4 separate regions of the Homo sapiens genome follow, and regions 1, 2 and 3 are each linked to region 4. Evidence: promoter capture Hi-C in 16 types of primary human blood cells and fetal thymus (Javierre and others, 2016). All regions are on one chromosome and are shown on one strand. The core of a region is centred on a gene start or on the middle of the fragment in contact, and the rest is flanking DNA. Distances in the headings are between cores, read along the strand shown.

Region 1 (3,515 bases), core at 796-3,295, 190 kb after region 4:
GGCAAAGTCATCTAAGTCCAGTGCCCAGACCATGGCCCCGCCCAGTCCCTTCTGCTTCAGATAGCTGACCTGTGCAGGGAGGGGATGCAGTGGAGGAGCCCGGGGAAGCCTGACCCGGCCACCCCAGAGCCTGGCTACCTCTTCTGGACAGGGCCCTTTTTGCTCCAGCAGCCTCAGGCCTGTGAGTGGCTGTAGATTCTGGAGACAGCCTTGGGCTGGGAGCCTGGATGCTGAGTCCTCATGCTGCTTGGACATCAGTCATTTTGCAGTCTCCTTGTCTTAACGTAAGCATGACCTGGGGTGGGGTGGGTGCAGTCGGGAGGAATAGTGTCAGTTGTGTGCACCTCCCTAAGTGGGAACCCTTCACCGCTTGGTCATGTGTGGGCTGAGCTGCTTTATTTAAGGGTATTGTATGCTGGTCAAGGTCAAGGTCAAGGTAAGTCCAGTTACCATAGGGAACAACTCAGATTTCCAAAAGATCTCAATCAAGGCTTGCTTCTCTGTCTTCATGTCTTTGTCTTCCCTGAGAGCCATCTTCCCTCCACCAGATTCCTGAGGCTTCCTGAGGGTATGACTGTGTGTTCCCTCAGAGTGGGATTCTCTGTCCTCTAACCCTGCCAGGGGGCCATGGTGCTTGATCCCTTGCTGGCCCCAGCCTCCCTTTCAGCTAGCTCCCTTCCTCTACCTGCCCTGCTTGGGGGTCCAGCTATGTGGGCCTACACTTTGTTTTCAGAGTCCAGCCTTTACTTTCTCTGCACCCGCGTCTTTGCTTGTGCAGTTGCCCGCTCCCTCACCCCTAAGAATGGCCACCTTCTATGCTTTAGGACTTATCTGAAATACCCTTCCACCGTGACCCCTTCTCCCATCTCCCCAGCCAGGATCGTGCCCCCCTGCAATTGTCCACCTCTAGAAGCTGCCGCTGTCAGCCACACATGATAGTTGATGTGGGATGTACAGATAAACTAGTGAAGCATCCGTCTTCAGGAGCTAACAGTTTCACAGGGGAAAATGGCATGAAACCAGGTAAATGCACCAATATTGGGCAGGAGAAGGGGGTCCTATAAGTAAAGCAAAAGGTCTGTAATTTGGACATGCACCAGATATTGCCAATGGGCTGAAGAAAGCTATATGTCTCACCATGTGTATTTCTCCTCTTCATATGTCTGTAGAATTTGTATGGTATTTAATAAAATAGAAATACTTTCCAGAGTGCTACTAAATGTAGAGCAATTTTTTGTCATTTTGTCTTTTCTGAGTCAATAGGTAGTAAAGGTACAAAATACTATCACGTGGAGATTTATGAAATGTTGGGACATTTAAAGGAGACTCACCCTTGAGGTCCTGAACTGTCCTCATTCCATGTCATTGACAGGACTTGTTCACTAGGACCACCCCTCTGCCAGCAGAGCTGGGCCTCACCTTGGTTTTGAAGCTCTCCACATCATCAAAGCCCACCCACTGGTTGTCCCGGAAGATGTAGGGCACCTTCTGATCCTGGATTCTCTGTTTGGTGGCCCCCTTCCAGGAGCAGACCTGTGGGAGCAGAAGGCAGCACTGGGGAGGAGGAGGGAGGCTCTTGCAGGCACCTTCCCTTCCTCACCAGGAGGAGACTAGAGATTGGAAAATTCCTGTCTGAGGAAGCCTGGAGAATCAGGAGGTTCTTTGCAGTGACCTAGAATTCTGGACTCAGCTTGAGGCACCTGGGCTTAAGGATAAATTCAAGATGGCATGGATGAGATGGAATTTACATGGCCAGAATTCTCTGCAATTGGCATCCTTACTCAGAAACGGTGGGAGAAGGAAACCTCTGTTCTCTCAGGCACCCCCTGACCCTCACAATACCCAGGGTGGTTATGGGTTTTCCTACTTCATAGTAGGCCAGCATCCCTCCTTCCTTGGTGAAGGGGCCTGGAGTGCCAGACCCTGTGGCTGGGGCCCCCACTCTGGTGTCTGATGAGGAGGCCAGTGTGAAGGAGCGTCCGTAGGTAGGCATGCCAAGGATCAGCTTGCTGGCAGGGGTCCCCTTCTGCAGCCACTGTTGCACAGCAGCATCCTGGTGGAAGAGGGCAGGGTTAATTTTCTCAGCCCTCAGCCTGGTTCTGATTATCTAAGTCTGGGGGATCCAGAGGCAGAGCTAGGAGGGCAGGGGCTCCTCAGCTGGAGCTCTACGGGCCTTTGTTAGGATTCCAGCCCTACCCCATCTTCTTTAGAGCCTGCCTTAGACCCGTGACCCCAGTGAAGAAGCTGCATGGCATGATAACCAGAGAGCGTGGGCTTCGGACGCAGACAACCATTCACTGAACAAATGTGTACTGATGGCCCACTGTGTGCCAGGCGCTGTCCATGGTGCTTCAGACACATCAGTGAACAAGGCAGACACAGATCCCTGCCTTACCCAGCAGCTTATTTAACCTCACTGAACCTTGGTGTTCTGTCTGTAACATGGAAATAAGGAAAATATCCATCTCTTAGGGCATTGTGAGAATTAAAGGTTATAATGCATGTAAAAGGTCAGCACAACGCAATAAAGGGTCGCTGTGGTCATCATCGTTATCATGATTGTTGTCTTAGTTTTACCCTGAGTACAAAAGCAGGGAATTGGGTCTGCTTTATTTATCTCTGTATCCTCAGTGTCTAGAATGACACCTGATGCTCAGATAGAACAAAGGCTTCCTTACCCACCTTTGAATAAGGCCTTCCCCTGATTATATATTACTTGGTGTAACACCCCCAGGCCTGTGACGGGAGAAGGTACCCGGTACAAGTATGATAAATTAATGAATAATGAAGCCTCATTCCTTAAGCCAAGAGTATGGTTCACTTTCCCCCAGAAGCTGCCCTAGTTTTGTCAGGTCTAGTTACTCTGAGCCCACTTAGCACTTAGGTAAAGAACAGCTTTCACTACATTTATTTAAATATATTTCTTTTTGTCCATCTATACAACTTATCTTTGATCAGATGGGTGCTTTCTGAAGGCAGAAGTCGGGGCTTCTCCTGATCTGTTATAGCACTTTTGTGCAAGTTGGGAAAAGTCACCCATCTGGTTAGAACCTGTCCCCGGGCACACTGTGTGGTGAGTAGAAGGCCTCTTTGTAGGAATAAGATGGCCTCCATTCCTCGGTGGATTCAAGGTACACAATGTGGAAAGCAGGGTGCTGGAGGGACTCCCACCCCACTCACCTCTCAGCTAAATTTCTTTCTGTGTCTCCCCACCAGCACAGGGATACAGCTTCCTCCAAAACTCACACAGTCTTCCAGACAGGGATGGAGAGGCCAGGCTCAGTGTGAAATGTGGGTGCCTGGCTCACTGGCTCAAAGAGGTGCTCTTTATTCATGAAAGAGCCAGAAAATCAAAGATGTCCCACTCCAGCTGACATACAGAGATGTGGGCTCTCCAAAAGTAAAAAGCATTTTAATTTAGGGCTTTTTCTTTGTTGTTTGGTTTTGCTTGTTTTAAGAAAGAAAAATAATGTAGTTATTATAAGCCCTCTCTGCAGGGTTTTATAAACCCTCTC
Region 2 (3,495 bases), core at 247-2,746, 150 kb after region 4:
GAAATGACTGCCTGGTTCCCTCTACCTGCTGGCCTCAGTTTCTCCATTAGATAAGGTGTTTGGGAAGGGCTGGGTAGCTGAAGGCCAGGATGGGCTTTACCAATGTTCTCTCGGATGTGGATGGGCTGGTCCAGCATGGCCGGCGGGCCAGCCCCTGCAGAACTCACTGCAGACACGCGCAGGAGGAACTTGTCTCCCAGAGCCAGGTTCCGCACAGTCTGCTGGGTCACCATCATGGGCCGGGCACTCACAGGCACCCACTCCGAGGCTGAGGGGATGGAGAGAGTGTGAGGTCTTTGCAATGTGGCCACAGGCGCCCCTCTCCATGGGGCTTCTTTTCCTGCTGGTGATCTGGGGAAATCAGCCTCCCTCTCTGGGCCTCATTTTCCCCTTGTTTGCCTTCCCTGACTTCTTGTCAAATGGCATCAAAGACACCTGATGTTAGAGCCCTGAAATTGTGGCTAGAGATGAGGTTGTTGAAGCCCAGAGAGGGTTGGACACATTTGCAAAGTCACACAGCAAGGTAGGGGCAGAGGCAGAGGCCAGGCTGGACTTGGGCCATGGAGGGGGACAGTGGCAGCAGGGATGTGGCCCCCACACCCCCACCCCATTCCCGCTTTCTCCTCACTGTCTCTTACGCTAACATTCCCCTCTCCAGCTCCTCCCTTTCCACTTCCTACAGTTCGGGGTCCTCTGAGACTTAGCACTTCCTTCCCTTCTCACCAAAGGAGAACCCAGTGTCCCCTTACCCTTCCCTTACTCAGAAGCTCCTTGGAGCTGAGGACAAGGGAGCCCCTCAACCCACCCACCTACCCTTTCTTGCTCTCCTGCTGGTGGAGCAAGAAAGGGCAGGTGGGTGGGTTGAGGAGCCTACTGCTCGCATCCCCTCCTTCTGTATCTCTCCCAGACTGACCAACCACAGGGCCTGTGCACTTGTCCCTGCAGCCCTCCATGACAACCTCCCCTGGGTGTATGCAAGACTTAGCCCAGCACTCACCTCCCTCTCTGCAGAGCTCCAGCACATAGCCCTGGAGGCCCAGCCTCCCCAGCCTCTCTGGGGGCTCCCAGCTCACAGTCACAGAGCTGCTGCTCACATCATCCAGGGTCAGCAGCAGTGGGGCACTGGGGACATCTGGGGAGATGAAGAGGTTCATGGCCAAGAGCTCCCCTCCACCCCTGACATGCCTGCCTCCCTCCTCCCCCTGCCCCACCTTCAGTCACCTTCACTTGGGGGTGCAGGCTTAGTGGCTGTGGAGGCTGTAGGGGCCTGTGGGGCAGGGGCCTGCGGCTTGGGCACCTGCTCTTCTCTGGTGGACTCTGATACTGCCACTTCTCCGGGAGGCTCTGCTGTGGGCACCTTGGCAGATTCAGATGCGGTCTCCTCTGGACTGCAGGCAGGGCCCTCGGAGGTGTTTTTTTCCATCATTGCTGGACTGGCTGGGGGGCCAGGGTGGAGTGTGCAGGGGTCAGCCGTTGGGGGGCCTGGGCCTCTAGGGTGCCTGGGACACCTAGGTCCAGGCTTATATAGTCAGGGGCTGCCCCACCCCCAGCAAACGATTCCCAGCTGTGGGGTCAGGTCAAGCAGGAGGACTGGAGGGTGGAGAGGCGCCCAGGCCAGGAATAGCTCTGGGGGAGGAACCACAAGGGCCCCTTGAGGAGTCACTTCCTCATCCATCTCCCCGACTGGCCTTCAACAGCCAGGGTGCTGGTGCCCAGCTGGGGGAGGGCGCAGATGGGTGAGATGGGACATCGAGCAGGCCGCGTGCCAGGTGTCAGGGCAATAGGAGGAAGAACTTCTATCTGGAGAATGAGCCCAGCTCAGGCTCTGTGTGTCTGGCGTCTATGGGGCCACTTGTTCCCAGAGCTTCTCAGACTGGGTGCTGGGGCCCTGACAGTTTGGGACAATCGTCCTTGTGAGCACTCCCAGCTTTGCCTCTGGGGTCCACATTCCCTGGGCTCCCACAGTTCCCAGGGACTCTCGCCTGTGCTGTATGAGGCTGAGGGCCCTAGAGAGGGAGGGAATTGAGATGCTGAGGGTGGAGCTGCTCAGAGGATGGTCCTCCAGCATTGGAACCCCAGGAAGGGGCACTAAGTCTCCTGGCTCCTGTCTCAGTTGGGCGGCTGGTAAGGAGCTCGTCTCCCCTGATGCCTGCTGTGGGCCTCAGTTTTCCACCTGTTACAGAGAACCCCTCGCCCTTCGGGATGGGTTGCAGTTGTAGGCAGATCTGGAAGATGCCCTAGTGGAGGAGAGCACTCTGAAGCTTCTAGACTCTTCCAAGCAGGCTGTGGGCATGGGCTTTCTCAGTGTGCCAAAGGAGGCAGATATGGCCAGATTTCTAGTCATTGATTCATTTGTTCGATAAAATGTTAAGACTGGGAATCACTGGAAAGCCAGAAAATGCCATGTGTCAGGAAGGAGGGAGAACATTAAGAACTTTTATTGCTGGTATTGGAGCAGTCACTCTGGAAAATGTGAGAGTTTTACTAGTGCCTAGTAAAATGGATGAGGTGCCTACTCCGTGACCCAGCCGTGCCGCTCATATAACACCCACACATGCCCCAGGAGACATGGAGAAGAAGGTTCATGGCAATGTTATTTGTAATTGTTGAAATGTGGGGGAAAACAGCTGTCCCTCAACAGTGGGATGGATAAATAACTGTGGAGTGTTTATGCAACTGTAAAGCAAAATATGGGGTCAAATGAGCAACTTCAGCTACTCACAGACCCAGTGATGAGCAGAAGAGCAAGGCACACAGAAATGTTGCGTCTCATCTGTCTCATCTACATTAAATCCAAATGCAGTCAACACCAGGCTCCCTTCTTCAAGGTACATCCGTAGGCGGTAAGGCCAGAAAGGAAGATGAGGCCAGTACAAAAGTTAGGATGGCGATTGCCTCTAGGTGGAGGAACAGGGATATCTGTGATCGTGAGGGCTGCAGGGGTGCTAATGAGGTTTCCTTTCCTGACCTGGGTGGTGGTTACACAGGTTCTTACTACATAGTTATTCTTCAAATTAAACAAATACATTTATGCACTCTTTAGCACGTAAGATGTGCTCACAATTTAAAAATAAGTAAAAGTGATTTATTCAGGGCCCTCAGCAGCATGCATGCTCTTCCCTTTCCTGAGGACTGGGGACACCAGGGTGTGGCTGCCTCTCAACCCTGCTGTCTCTGCTGGGGAGTGGCAGTGCAGGGCCTGGGAGCCTCTGGATCTGGCCCTCCCTGGATGCCCTCGCCCTCTGCTAGGTGACTCCACGTCTTGCCAGGCAGGGAGTGGGTCCTGGAGACTGGATCTCCATCCTTGGCCTCTGACTCTGCAGCTATAAGTGAATGTGACTAACCCCACAGGACACTGAGTCAGCCCTGGAGAGCCTGTCCCCGGCTGGGGGAAGGGTGGCCCCAGGGGAGGGCAGTTGGCTGCCCACAAGGGCTTGCAGCCCTGGGGTTTCAAAGATGCCTGTGTGGTGGGGTGGGCAGTGGCAGGGATTAGGG
Region 3 (3,426 bases), core at 713-3,212, 210 kb after region 4:
TGTTTAGCCTTTGACCCTAGTTTTGACACAGAACTCCTAAGCCCTTGGAACTTCCTGGGTACTAGGAGCATCTTTTGTTCCAAAGAGGTGCCTCTTTGTGGGCATCTGGAGGGGGGTTGGTCACCAGAAAGACCAAGCCATGATGAGAAGTTTGGAACCTTCAGCTCCACCCCCCATCCTCTGGGAAGGGGAGTGGGGCTGAAGACCACGTAATCATGCTTATGTGGGGAAGCCTGCATAAAAGTCCATTAACTAGGCTGGGTGCAGTGGCTTATGCCTGAAATCCCAGCACTTTGGGGTGCAGAGGCAGGAGGATTTCTTGAGTTCAGGAGTTTGAGACCAGCCTGAACAACCTTGACCTCCTGAACAACTAGGTCTCAACCTAGTGAGACCCCCTTTCTACAGACAAACAAACAAACAAACAAACAAACAAAATCCATGATCCATGGGGTTTAAAGAGCTTCAAGGCTACTGAACACATGGAGAGAGGAGAGCAGCTCCAAGCCCCTTCCCATCTTCCTCGCACTATGCATCTCTTCCATCTGGCTGCTCCTCTGTATCCTTTGTAATATCCTTTAAATCAATGGGTCAATGTAAGTAAGTGTTTTTGTGAGTTCTGTGAGCTGCTCTAGCAGAGGAAGAGCAGAGGAAGGGCGTCATGGGAACCCCAGTTTTTAGCTGCTTGATTGAAGCACAGCTCACCACCTGGGACTTGTGATTGGCCTCTGAAGTGGGGGCAGCCTTGTGGGACTGAGCCCTCAGCCTGTAGATCTGACTCACTCCAGATGGATAGTGTCAGAATGGAATTAAATTATAGGATACCCTGTTGGTGTCTGCTGGAGAGTTGTTTGGGTGTGGAGAGAAATCCCCACACCTCTGGTCTCAGAAATGAAGTATGGAGAGTGAGTGTGAGAATAGTAGAATACAGTCAGTTTGTGTGTTTTTCCATTAGGCCACCCGCCTACCTCTCAGCCTTGTGCTGGTCACGCCACCCTGAGCACCCCAGTTCTATTTCATGAACGTGAGTGTGTCAAGCCTTTTCCAATCTCAGGGTCTTGGCACAGCACCCTTTGCCTGGGATGTGTTCTCCTTCTCATTCTCATCCTCCAGGGCTGGTCTCTGCTGTCACCTCCTGAAGAGGCTTCCCTATATCTGCGTATTTCTCCATGGCAGGGCAGTTCTGCTACTCTCTCCTGAAAAGGTGTTTATTTTTCCTCCCCAGACCTTATCCTAATTTGCAATTACATATTTATTTTGTGAGCTTACGTATTTAATGTCTGTAACTCTCTCTAGACTGGAAGCCCCAAGAGCAGTGACCGTGTCTCTTTGTTCATTGCTGTGCACCAAAAACCAGGTGCCTGTATAAAGAACTGACCTCAATAGACATCTGTTGAATGAGTTGATTATTGAATACTATTCCTTCAACATCCCTTGTAACTCAACGTCAAGTGCTTAGTAAGAAGCTGGTTGATGTGAGAAGTGCATACCACCCCTTAAGACCTCTTAATGTATTAGCAGAAGCTATGCTCCCCATATTGCAGTGGAAGAAAGAGAAGCCAGGGAATTTGCAAGCCTTCCAGAGCTAAAGTGGAGGTTTCCAGGTTCTTCCCTTTCCATTTGGTTATCTTTGGACAGGCCTGGCTCCCAGGCAGAGGTGGAGCTAGTGGCTGCAGGCTGGTGTGGGCTTCAGTCATGGTGAAACTCATATCCTGGAGTCAGGGCACTCTCTGGGGACAGAAAGCACCTTGAATCCTCTCTGGCCACGTGGATTCTGGCCTTGCATGTCTAAACATCAGCCTGTTTCCTGTTTCCAGTGGACCATATCCCAGTGGTAGTTGTTTCTTTCACCATTAACAGGTTTGAGCCTGAAGCAGTTGGCATGTAGTGGGCAGTAGAACTAGAAGGGGAGAGTCAGGCCTAGGTCATGATATGGGCCAGGACTGGAAGTACAACCCATTCAGACCCCTACACCTCTCCCTGACCTGCTGTCTTCAGATACCTGACATTCTGCATGGACTCCTTCCCTCCTCCCCACCTCCTTCTCTCTGTCTCACCCCCTTTCTCTCTGTCCCTCTCTTTTTTCTCTCCTTTCTTTATTTCTACACATAATTATTGTTGTACAATAATAATGTCCCATTGCAGCATTTCTTAAAATAGCATAAACCTAAAACTGCCTTAAGTGTCACCAACTGGAGCCTGAAATTCCATACGTCATTAAAATGAAACAAAAATGTCCTCAATATATTGTTAAAGGAAAAAAGCAAGGTGTACCCATTTCGTGTGGCAGATTGAGCATAGGTATTTATCTCCACTCTCTCCTGAAATCCCTTGAAATCACAGTTAAAGGAATAAAATGGTATAAATCTACTAGGACAAAGCAAACAGAAGAGGAAATTAAAATAGATAAGAGATGCCAACAAATGTTTGGAAGGTGAAAACAGAATGAACAGGTGAAACTGTTTGTGACAACAGAATGAACAGGTGAAACAGGCTTCACAGACCTGAAAAAGCTGAAACCTTGGTCTTTCATGTGGGGCCTCTTTCCTCAAATGTCTGGTGATCAGGCTGCAGGTGGGGAAGCCCACAGGAAAAAAGAGAACTCAGGCCAAAGGACCCTGAAAATGTGCAGGAGTCAGCAGAAAGTTGCCAAGTGGGCTAAAGCTGACAACAGTAAGTGTGGGTGACCTGTTGGACCCCTGGATCTTCTTCATCCCCATTAAATATGGGGATGGTCCAGAGGGACTGAAGACTCAGTAATACCTGGCCCAGCAGAGGATGGTGTGGGGGCTGTAGTGGGTGGGGAGGGTGTTAGACTGAAGACTGAGAAGAAGGACTGAGGAATTAAATGAAAGTCTGTACATGGGATGCTCAGAACTTCCAGGCTTTCCCCCCGCTAGGCTCCCAGAGCCCCAGTAAGAGGACTGAAAAATTCCTCTCAAGGAAAAGCTGGCCAGCCTAAGAGAAAAGTTACCAAAACTCAGACTACCAAACTCAAATGACATTTGAGGGCCCCCAGCAGAACAGCCAGGTTCTTCTCCATCACCCGAAGGTGGGGACCTTGGATAAGAAGCCCACCAAGCCTCTAGAGCTTCCAGTGGGCTTCTGTTGACTCATATGGAACCAAAAGCCTGGTGACTAGACATTCGAGGAAAGAGTCCCCACAGGAAAGACCAAAATAAAAAAAGAAGGAACTCAGAGAAATCAGAGTGGGCAGCTCCCAGCGATTCTGACTTTCTAACCTCAAACGACTATATTCTGCCCATTAACAATGCATTACTTTCATTCTTAAAAATTACTTTATGATAATCAATGGGCATAAAATTTCAGTCAAGCAAGATGAATAAGCTCTAGAGATCTGCTGGACCACACTGTCCCTACAGTCAGCTATATTGCATTGTATACTTCAAAATTTAACAGGGTAAATCT
Region 4 (3,303 bases), core at 763-3,262:
CATTTTTGTTTTTTTTTTTTTACCATCTTCCCTAGGAATATTCCTAGAAAGCATCTGCTTAATTTTGCTGCTAACAGCTAACCTTATCCCACGTTGAGGGTGGTATTAAAACTGTTCACACAGAGTGAGCCTGGGTCAGTCAAAAACAGAATTTGGGCATTTGAGTGATAACAGACAACCTAAGGACAATGAGCACTTTGCAGATCTCTACAATTAAAAGTTGCCTCTTTGAGGCAGGAGGGGAGAAGCACAGTCCCTGCCAGGTTGCCTGAACTAAAGATGCCATGGAGCAGGAGTGTCTTGGTGCATTGTTCCCCGCTTAGGAGTACCTTTAAAAAGGGGGTGAAATAAATTTGGCTTAATAATTGTATTCTGACTCAGCTCTGAGTTTTTTGTGTCAAATTCCATGGTATGGTGACAGATACAGTACTAGATACTGCCTCAGCTCTCTCTCAGCATAATATTGACAAACATTTGGTAAAATGTGTTACCAGTCGTTATCTTGGCTTCAGCCTTCCTCTGCATTGGCTGAGTTGCCGTTTCTAGCATGATACATGCTTTATTAGTGACAGGATGTGAAGTGTCTCAGGGATTTCCTTTTGGTGAGGACCCCAGACCACCCGAAGAAGAATTAGAACTTTCTGGACTACAGGTTATATACTGTGATTTTGCTCTGTCAAGCAACATAAATTGATCCTTGAACGCTGTGAGAGTTATGGACACAGACCCTCACACAGTTGAAAATCTGCTATGACTTTTGACTGCCCGAAAACTTAATAGCCTACTGTTGACTGGAAGCCTTATTGATAACATAAACAGTTGATTAATGTGCATTTTGTATATGTAGTATATACCTTATTATAATAAGCTCGAGAAAAGAAAATGTTATTAAGAAAATCAAAGAAGAGAAAATACATTTACTGTTCATTAAGTGGGTCATCATGTTGAGCAGGCTGACGAGTAAGAAGAGGAGGGGTAGTCTTGCTGTCTCAGGGGTGGCGGGGAAGGAAGAAAATCTGCATGCAACTGGCCCTGTGCAGTTGAAGGCCCTGTTGTTCAAGGGTCACAGATTTAGCTTCACTTACCCACCCCTCAGATCAGAATTACTCAAGATTTCCCTGTCTTCAAAGAGACGCAAGGAAATTATGCCAAATGGTGAATATATTGGGTGGAAGATAAATGAGAGAAGGTTGTATGTGTCACTGATCTCAACTATAGCATTTGCTGCTGATATAGAACATGCTGTGTATATATCTATAAATACACACACATGAACACATTGCATGTATATAAAAATTGTTCACACTTTTAGTGGTGCTTACTGGGTATTGGTAAAGGATTGAGTAGGCACTGTGATGAAACTTCACAAAGCAGATGGAAAAGATGCATTAATAGCCACAGGGGGCAGGGTAAGGGAGCAATTCAGGAAAATGGAGAGGCTTAGCTAAAATTTGTCAGTCAGGAATTTTGGCATTTGAGACTTGTTTTCATACTATGTATATGTAATAGACAAACCCTTCATTTTGTAGTAACAGTGTTAGAACAGCCAGGTGCCTGAAGGCAAGCGACACAATTCACTGAAGAGCATACTACAGATGTAGTATCCGGATATCAAGTTTCCCCACTTAAAAAATGGGTGCGATCAAAGGAAAAGCAAGGAACGGGCAGGAGAGCAAGCGTGAAAGGTGACAAACTTGACAATTACAAGGCCGAGACTAAGGCCAATTTAGGGAACGGGCTGTTAGACTAGGAACAAGGGCGAGTTCAGAGGGAGGGGCAGAATGTGGGCAGCACTCCTGGGCCCTGAGACCCTTCTGCGGAATAAAACTCTGGCACTTCGCCACCTCCTAGGCTGAACCAAGATGGCGCGCGGCCTCAAAGCGGCGCTCTCGTCACGTGCCCGGACCCGAGGCGCTTGGGGGCGGGAGGCGTGGCCTCGGTCGCGGCAGCCCAGCCCCGCCTAGGGGGCGGAGCCGGGGGGGGTTGTCCGCGGAGGAAGGGGGCGGGGCCCCGCGGCCGCGCGCTTGGGCGGCGGAGGCTGCAGCTACCTCGGCGCCGGCTCGGCTCTAGGACGTGTCGGGCTGCACGGGTCGGGGGCGGCTCCCTGCTGCTTCCGAGCCTAGCCGCCTGGCCTTCGGCATTTGCAGGCAGGTGAGCGCCCAGAGCCTGGACTGGGGTAGGATGCGTCTTTTCCCCATCTCCAGCTCCCCTCGACAGTTTGGGGAGGGGTCTCGTCTATCGCACCTCGGGAAACAGCCCTTTTTGACTCCGTATGTGCTACCTCCGGCAGGCGTCGGTACTGCTTACCCTGCCGCCCCTCGCCCTCCTTTGCGGTGCCCTGTGCCCTTGGGGGTGAGGATAGGGGCGATGCCTGATCTGCGGGGAGGGCGTGGAGTGCGCCCTCTGCTCCATCGGCTTCAGGGGAGGGGGCCGAGTTGGCGAGTCTCCCGGTGGGAACGGAGCAGACTGCGCCCCCATTTCCCCTCCAGGAGAGTCAGAAAAAGCGCCTCTCGGCTCCGGGGCCAACCCCACTCCTTTGGGGACGCGATTCTGATGGGCTGAGGTCTTCGCTCTTCGCGGGGGTCTTAATCTTTCCCGAGTTGCTCATAGCACCCCTGTTCCTGTCGCTAGCTCTCCATTCCTCGAACTGCCAGCCTCAGTCTGTGCCAGAGATGCCCCCATCTCCGCAGTGCCAGGGCGGTGGGGTGGAAGGAGCGGCCAACCCGAGGCCTGGTGGGGGTGGGGACAGGGGTGGGCGCAACAGGAAAAGAGGGCTGGAATAGAGATGCCTGAACTGGGAGGGTGGGAGTGGGGCGCTGACTTACGTCCACGCAGTAGGGATGTTTTCCAGCGCAGATTTTGAGGTTTTGATGGTGGGTGGGAAGAGAGAGGTCGGGCTGGAGGACTTGGAGACATGGTGTAGGTGGTTTTCTTCGAGAAGGAGGAGGGATCCAGGACAAGGTGCCACTAGGAGCTGATGTCACCTTTGAGGAGAGGTGTGCTGGTAGTTTCCATCAGAGGAGCAGGAGAGTTGGGGCCGTTCTGTGTGGAGAGCAAGTGGTTAAGGAGGCGCTGCTTCGCAGGGAGATCCCCTCCTGGTGTGAGCTTAAGGGTCCCCTCCAGGAGCCAGGTTTCAGGGATTTCCCATAGTCCTTTCCAGAGTTCTTGGATCTGGTACCTAGTACTTTGCTCAACATCCAGCAAACATTTGTTGGACACCTACTATCTGCCAGATACTATGCTCGGTGCTAGGTCTTCTGAAGGCAATTTACAGCCACGGAGTAGCTGAAAGGTACACATAGG

Evidence for each region. The method cuts DNA at HindIII sites, captures the fragments that hold promoters and counts their contacts. A CHiCAGO score of 5 or more calls a contact.
Region 1: a fragment that was not itself captured here is called in contact with the fragment with the promoter of PPFIA4 in region 4 in 3 of 17 cell types (M2 macrophages, M0 macrophages and megakaryocytes); the score reaches 7.0 in M2 macrophages.
Region 2: a contact is called between the fragment with the promoter of MYBPH here and the fragment with the promoter of PPFIA4 in region 4, in 2 of 17 cell types (M0 macrophages and M2 macrophages). The highest score is 6.5, in M0 macrophages.
Region 3: a contact is called between a fragment that was not itself captured here and the fragment with the promoter of PPFIA4 in region 4, in 2 of 17 cell types (M2 macrophages and M1 macrophages). The highest score is 8.2, in M2 macrophages.

Annotation. Positions count from the first base shown.
Region 1 is chr1:203,217,797-203,221,311 of GRCh38, forward strand. It overlaps CHIT1 (chitinase 1), which reads right to left. Exons shown (of 11, transcript NM_003465.3): 8 at 1,868-2,053; 9 at 1,420-1,533; 10 at 1-69. Among named protein-coding and RNA genes, the nearest start is that of CHIT1, 10 kb to the right of the region's middle. The HindIII fragment of the contact is 4,475 bases long and covers 1-3,515 here.
Region 2 is chr1:203,174,330-203,177,824 of GRCh38, forward strand. MYBPH (myosin binding protein H) reads right to left here and starts at 1,497. Exons shown (of 11, transcript NM_004997.3): 1 at 1,222-1,497; 2 at 998-1,132; 3 at 101-268. The coding sequence starts at 1,426. RefSeq lists enhancers at 1-161, 3,079-3,495. The HindIII fragment of the contact is 10,255 bases long and covers 1-2,259 here.
Region 3 is chr1:203,236,097-203,239,522 of GRCh38, forward strand. No RefSeq gene overlaps it. Among named protein-coding and RNA genes, the nearest start is that of CHIT1, 8.1 kb to the left of the region's middle. The HindIII fragment of the contact is 4,451 bases long and covers 1-3,426 here.
Region 4 is chr1:203,024,479-203,027,781 of GRCh38, forward strand. It overlaps PPFIA4 (PPFI scaffold protein A4), which reads left to right and starts at 2,013. Exons shown (of 30, transcript NM_001304331.2): 1 at 2,013-2,151. TMEM183A (transmembrane protein 183A) reads left to right here. Exons shown (of 8, transcript NM_138391.6): 8 at 1-370. RefSeq lists a silencer at 1,803-2,112 and an enhancer at 1,939-2,460. The HindIII fragment of the contact is 10,467 bases long and covers 1-3,303 here.